Linked DNA regions of Homo sapiens: region 2 is linked to region 1. Evidence: promoter capture Hi-C in human tissues and cell types (Jung and others, 2019). All regions are on one chromosome and are shown on one strand. The core of a region is centred on a gene start or on the middle of the fragment in contact, and the rest is flanking DNA. Distances in the headings are between cores, read along the strand shown.

Region 1 (3,457 bases), core at 275-2,774:
CCGTGAACATTGCCTAGCCATGTCTCTCCAAGCCTGGGAGAGCCATCTGTGGCCAAAACTGTCCTCTGGCCTTTCCCAGGACACGGGCAGGCAGTTCCTGTCTATACCTGTCTTTTTTTTTTTTTTTGAAGGGGGTGAGGATGGGTCAAGATGGGCAGACACAGAAAACAGACATTTTTGGAGAAGACTTCAAGGAAATGGGGGGCGGCAGGGCAAAGCTGGGAGGAGGAAACATTCAGAATTTGGAGGGTCCAGAGGACTCTGGGATGGAGTCAGGTTTGGGAAACCAGTTCCCCATCCCCCAGAAAGCTGGAGACCCCCTTTCCCAGGGAGAGGCCCCTGCCGGATCACAGCCAGGCAGCATGATGCCAGGCTCTCAGAGAGGTTGCCCACCCCCCACTGGGCATACTTCCTCCTCTCCTACCCCAGCCCCAGTGGATGCAGCAGTTCACACTCTGTATTTATTATTGTTCTCGCTCTGTGTCCCCCTCCCCTCTCCCTGGGAAGAGCCTGCAGGCTGGCAGCTTGGCAGGAACCTGCTGTCTCCTTGTGGGTGCCAGCGTCGCCCCTTATCTCCGCCTGGACTCCTTGTGCCAGGGTCAGGCCATTCATGGGCTTGGCACCAGCCAAGGCCACCCTAAGTCCCTGTATCCCAAGATAGAGGCCTGGCAGGCCCTGACTTATCACCCCTGCCCTCCGGGGGCTGTGCCCTGGCAAGGGTGGAGGTCAGAGCAGACCAGCAGGCAGGCAAGAAGCAAGGGCTCGGGGTGGGGTGGTACCTGGGGGAAGAGAATAACCACACGGAGCCACCTCTCTAAGCCAACTAACACAATTATCCCCATCACACTGGGGAAAAAATAGAGTCAGGATAAGACAGCTGCTCCAGGTCCAACTGTCTGCCTTTCCCAGCCGGTCCCTTCCCAGCCCAACATTCCAGGGGAAGGACCAGCAAGGGTCCCTGCTGCACTCTGCTTTCAGCAACTGGAAGCGGCACTGGGGTTTCTCTGGTCAAGGCGGTCCTCTCTCCCGCTGCTTCCCAGACAGGAGGCTGCGGCTTGGCAGGTATCTGCTGCTCTCTGCCTCCTGAGCCAGACGCAGGTCCCAGACACAGACACAGACACAGACACAGACATGCTCCCACGGGAGCCACACGGCCTCACCTCATTTGGGGGTCACGGGGAGAGAATGAGGGAGGGAGAGACAGGTGGTATCCTCTATACCCCCAACACCCTATCTGTAAGCTGAACTGGGCTGATCCAGCCCCCACCTTCACGTTGTACCTCTCTCCTTCGGCCTGGCCAAAGCCACAGTTTCTGGCACAGTGTCCTCAGGCCCCATCTAGCCCCTCACCTCTCCTGGGCAGCTGGGGTCCAGGCACTGCCTCCTGCGGCGTCCGCGCTCTGTCTCTCTCTGGCTCGTGGAGCTGGCAGGCAGGGGATGGGTCTGGAAGATGTGTGTGTGTGTGTGTGTGTGTGTGTGTGTGTGTGTCTGTGTGTGCTCGCGCGGGCGGTACCTCAGCCCCTCACTCACTCACACGCCTTCCAGCTGACGTCAGGGAGAGCAGGAGGGAGGGATGAGAATTTGTACTCCCTGCTTAAAGGGACACCAGGCTCTGTGGCTCATGGCCCAGACATCACCTCCTGAGTCAGGCACTGCCAGGTGAGAGGCTCAGCTGCGTCTCTCGGGGGCCTTAAAGCTTCTTTTTTTGGAAAGTGGCTTTTATGGTCGGGCCACGGTATAATTTGCCCTGCCCAGTGAGGGCAGCTGCTGAGGAATGCAGGGGAGGAAGAACCTGAGACAGCGCCACGTTCCTGGTAATTAGAGAGCAAGTGGGGTGGTGAGTTTGAGTGTGAGTGTGTGAGTGCACACTGGGGGGCCCCTCGGGGTGGGTGGGCATGAGTGGGGGTGAGTCTGGGAGAATGGAGGTCAGAGCCAAGAGGAGCCCCCCAGAGGGGTCGAGACAAGCCAGGTTCCCAGGGACACCCAGACACTCGTCTCCCCTCCGGACGCTCAGTGGTCCTGCCCTCTGCTAGTACAGACACTGACACGGCTCATCTCTGTCTACCCCTTGTAATATTTCCATGGAATTGAATTGACGAGGACCCCAAGGAAGTGATCGGCTTGAAGGTGCACAGGTGAACACCCCACAGCCTGGGAGGCTCTGAGTAGAGAAGTAGAGAGGGCTGATTGAATTCAGGCACCCAGCCTGTTCTACACCACACGCCCTGGCTTCGAAGTGCTCCGCACTGTCAAGCTGTGTGACCTTGGGCCAGCCCCTGAGGGCCTTTGGAGGTTGAGTGTGTGATGTTCCTAAACCCAGGGCCAGCTGGAGGAGGCCTCCACAAAGGTGCTTCTCTTCGTTCTTCCCATTCCTTCTCAGCCTCAGCTTGGAAAGAAGGAAGCCTTTCCCTGGTGTCTCCTGGTACTACTGAGGCAGGCTGGCATTTTCAAAAGGAGTCTTTTTAAAATAAAAAGGAGGTGGGAGTTAAAAGGGAAACCGCAGAGAAAAATACAAGTAACTAATACAAATAGCTAAGACGCCACAAGAGCTTGCTCTGTTTCAGGCAGCAAGCTTTGCCCTCATTGAAACCTCACAACAATTTAATAATTTATTTTTATCATCCCTACTTTACCGGTGAGGAATTAGAGGCTCAGGGAGGAGGAAGGACTTGACTTGCCTATATTCTTCCAACTGGCTAGAGAGGTACTGGAACCCAGGAGCACCCAGTGTCACCACACGCCCCTGCCCTTCCAGAACCTCTCAGGACAATCAGGCTCAGACAGTCTGGGTTTCTGGTTCTGCAGGAGAGACTGTTGAGAAATGCTGCCTGTGGTTACCTGGGGATGTTCTGAATTATTATTATTTTTTTTAGAGAGTATTGCTGTGTCGCCCAGGCTGGAGGGCAGTGGCTTGATCTCAGCTCGCTGCAACCTCCGCTTCCCGGGTTCAAGCGATTCTCCTGCCTCAGCCTCCTGAGTAGCTGGGACTACAGACACACACCACCACACCCAGCTAATTTTTTTGTATTTTTAGTAGAGACAGGGTTTCACTATGTTGGCCAGAATGGTCTCGATCTCCCGACCTCGTGATCCACCCACCTCAGCCTCCCAAAGTGCTGGGATTACAGACGTGAGCCACCGCGCCCAGCCAGGGTTCTGATTTTATTTCACAGCCCCACCTGAGAACTCTACCCAGAGGAGCCTCCCTTCCCCTTTAAATTCTCCTCTCTCTTTCCTCCTTTTTATTTATTTATTTTTTCTTTTTTGAAACAGGGTCTTGCTTTGTTACCCAGGCTAGAATGCAGTGGCTCAATCACAGTTCACTGCAGCTTCCAACTCCTGGGCTCAAATGATCCTCCCGCCTCAGCCTCATGAGTAGCTGGGACTACAGGGGTGCACCACCATGCCTGGCTAAGTTTTCAAAAAATTTTTATAGAGATGGGGTCTCATTATGTTG
Region 2 (3,457 bases), core at 303-2,802, 99 kb before region 1:
TTGAGGAAACTCCCAACTATTCTCCATAATAGTGGCTGTACTAATTTACATTCCCACCAACAGTGTATGAGGGTTCCCTTTTCTCCACATCTTTGCCAGCATTTGTTATTGTCTGTTTTTTGGATAAAAGCCATTTTAACTAGACTGTGAATAGATATTTCTGAAAGGATATTGCCCACTGTGATAAGACTATCATAAAAGCAATTTTTAAAAATAGCCCACATGTCCACATTCAGCTTCTCACCGTGTTTTCTCTTGGTAACTTTCCCTTCAGGATTGTAATCTGGTGGGTAAACAAGCTCCTTAAACTCATCCACCAAGGAGCCCAGTCTTTTATTCATTGCTTCAACCTTGGGCACTAGAAAATCAAAACACAGAAGAGTGGCCTGGTGAGTCACGAGCCCCAGCTTGCTGTCCACTTCCAGAACTCTCTGAGAACCAGAAGAGAGAGCACCTAACTGCTAAGGTGGGAGGGGTCTAGGGAAATGTCTTTCCAGCATTTACCAAGTACCTTCCAACACCTGCATTTACTGTAATTACACATACTACCGCCAGGCACTGTTGTAAATGCTTTAAACTTACTCTATTTACTCCTTCTAACAACCTATAGGATAGGTAAATTTGTCCCCAGTTTTTTTTTTTTTAGATTTTTTTTTGAGATGGAGTCTTGCTCTGTTGCCAGGCTGGAGTGCAGTGGCGCGATCTTGGCTCACTGCAACCTCCGACTCCCTGGTTCAAGCGATTCTCCTGCCTCAGCCTCTTGATTTGTCCCCAGTTTTACAGAGGAGAAAAGGAGAGAGATTACATGACTTTCCCAAAGGGCAGTGGTACAGTGGAGATACTAAGCTAGATTCTGGGAATTCAAACAAGTGCTCATGCCTGCGGTGAGCTTACAGCCCAGTGAGAGAGAGGAGGTGGATAAAAACGATGCAGTGGAGTTGGGCAACACCATGCAAGAAGCGACTGTACAGGCACACTGGAACACAGGAGGGGTGGTGAAAGATAAGAAGCAGAAGGCACTGGGAGAGAAATAGCAGGTGACATATAGCTGGAAGGTAGGGTGTTAAGGAGGACAGGGCCAGCAGAGAGGTGAGAAAGATGGGTATGATGAGGTCATGGAAGCTGGGATGCCTGCCAAGGAATTAGGCCTTATCCAAAGAATCCCCTGATAGCTGCATGGAGGGTGAACTGAAAGAGGGTAAGATAAGACAGGTGAAGTGGGGTGTGGGTGGGAGGACCCATAAACATGAGAAGTGACAGAACTGGCAGGACTTACTGATAGAATAGGATTTATTATTTAACTGAAATCACAGAGCTGGAAACCAGAATGTAAGAAGAATAGGAGTGGGATGGGGAGATGACTGGCTGAAACAGGGGGAGCAAGTATGACAGGAAAAGGCAACTTTGGAGGAAAGATCATACTTTTGTTTCCTTTTTTGTTAGCTTACAACTATATTGTTAAATCAAGCTTCTGACATGAGCTGTGTCACATCAAGGGCAAGGGTGATGAGATGGGCAGCTCACATGCCCGTATTTGCCAAGCATGGAGGGGAGCTCTTGCTGGTGTACCTAGATGGCACAATGCTGGAGCCAAACTGTGCTCCTGCTGCATCAGAAGTCCCCTGGTCCACATCATGGGAACCTCTGCAAGAGCACTGGCTCCCAATCTGGGAATCATCTGTAGAGTTTTAAAAGTACAGAGAAGCTGGGTGCAGTGGCTCTTGCCTGTAATCCCAGCACTTTGGGAGGCCGAGGCGGGTGGATCACCTAAGGTCAGGAGTTCAAGATGAGCCTGGCCAATATGGTGAACCCCCATCTCTACCAAAAAATACAAAAATCAGCCAGGCATGGTGGCGGGTGCCTGTAATCCCAGCTACTCGGAAGGCTGAGGCAGGAGAACTGCTTGAGCCTGGGAGCCAAAGGTTTCAGTGAGCCGAGATCCCACCACTGCACTTCAGTCTGGGTGACAAGAGTGAGAACCTGTCTCAAATGAATGAATGAATGTACTGAGGTCCAGCCTATGCTCAGTACTAAAAATAAAAATAAAAGTAGTGAGCATGGTGGCTTATGCCTATAATCCCAGAACTTTGGGAGGCCGAGACAGGTGGATCACTTGAGGTCAGGAATTTGACACCAGCCTGGCCAACATGGTGAAACCCAATCACTAATAAAAACACAAAATAGGCCGTGCGCAGCGCCTCCTGCTTGTAATCCCAGCACTTTGGGAGGCCAAGGCGGGCGGATCACAAGGTCAGGAGATCGAGACCATCCTAACCCAGTGAAACCCCGTCTCTACTAAAAATACAAAAAAATTAACCGGGCTTGGTGGCAGGCACCTGTGTCCTAAACTACCTTGCTAGGCACTAGGCCACCGACTTCTGAATTTGCCTAAGGCCTGAAAGGAGGAGATGGGCTGTTTAGCTCAAAACGTTTCTCTTTCGCCAGACACAGCTAAGCAGGCACCACAGTAACAATGGTCCAATAACTCTTCTGCTTTTAACACTGGGGCTATTTTGTCTAAAATAGATCATTCTGAGACCAGCCGGGCCATCATGGCGAAATCCCGTCTCTACTAAAAATACAAAAATTAGCCGGGCGGGGACCAACTGCTCGGGAGTCTGAGACACGAGAATAGCTTGAACCTAGGAGGCAGACGTAAGCCACTACGCCCGGCTGCGAGTCGCTGGATTCTAAACCCAAATCCACCACTTATTTCCTCTTAAATTATTTATTGATTTTTTGTTTTTGTTTTGTTTTTTGAGACAGCGTCTCGCTCTGTCACCAGGCTGGAGTGCAGTGGTGCAATCTCGGCTCATTGCAGCCTCTGCCTCCTGAGTTCAACCGATCTTCCTGCCTCAGCCTCCCGAGTAGCTGGGACTACAGGCACACGCCACCACACCCAGCTAATTTTTTGTATTTTTAGTAGAGACAGAGTTTAGTAGAGACAGAGTAGAGACATGTTGGCCAGGATGGTCTCAATCTCTTGACCTCGTGATCCACCCGCCTCGGCCTCCCAAAGTGCTGGGATTACAGGCATGAGCCACCGTGCCCAGCCTCTTATATTATTTTTTAAATTTCACCAGCATGTAGTCACAGGGCGGCCTAGTGCAGAGGCAGGTCTCAGAAGCCTGACACTCTCCTCCTCTCACTATGGAACCAGCCAAATCTGTTCCCTGGCTGTTTAAGCTGGTCTGGAAAAGCTTCCAAACAGAGGGGGTCTGGGGAATGAGGTTAAGTGTTTAGAGAGGACTGGGAAATGCACCCAAATTACTGGTGCAGAGTGGAACCAGTAAGAAAGCCTCCCATGAAAAGAACTACTCTATTCAACCTCCTTACATGTCAGGTCCACTGCTTGTTCCGGCTCCATCAAATCCAAGGCCAAGGCCTCCAGGTTCCTGAAGTGCTGCTGCAGCACGGGGTTCTCAAAGCTGTCACTTCTGTTAAAACAATAATGTAA

Evidence for each region. Contacts are between HindIII fragments. The study calls those that stand out against the background at their distance.
Region 2: a fragment that was not itself captured here is called in contact with the fragment with the promoter of CSDC2 in region 1 in 4 of the 25 tissues and cell types used here (IMR-90 fibroblasts, dorsolateral prefrontal cortex, mesenchymal stem cells and 1 more).

The regions. Positions count from the first base shown.
Region 1 is chr22:41,559,077-41,562,533 of GRCh38, reverse strand. It overlaps CSDC2 (cold shock domain containing C2), which reads right to left and starts at 1,524. Exons shown (of 4, transcript NM_014460.4): 1 at 1,351-1,524. LOC105373044 (a long non-coding RNA gene) reads left to right here and starts at 1,651. Exons shown (of 2, transcript NR_134631.1): 1 at 1,651-1,814. The HindIII fragment of the contact is 6,219 bases long and covers 357-3,457 here.
Region 2 is chr22:41,658,232-41,661,688 of GRCh38, reverse strand. It overlaps XRCC6 (X-ray repair cross complementing 6), which reads right to left. Exons shown (of 13, transcript NM_001469.5): 11 at 3,337-3,437; 12 at 245-358. Among named protein-coding and RNA genes, the nearest start is that of SNU13, 29 kb to the left of the region's middle. The HindIII fragment of the contact is 4,770 bases long and covers 1-3,457 here.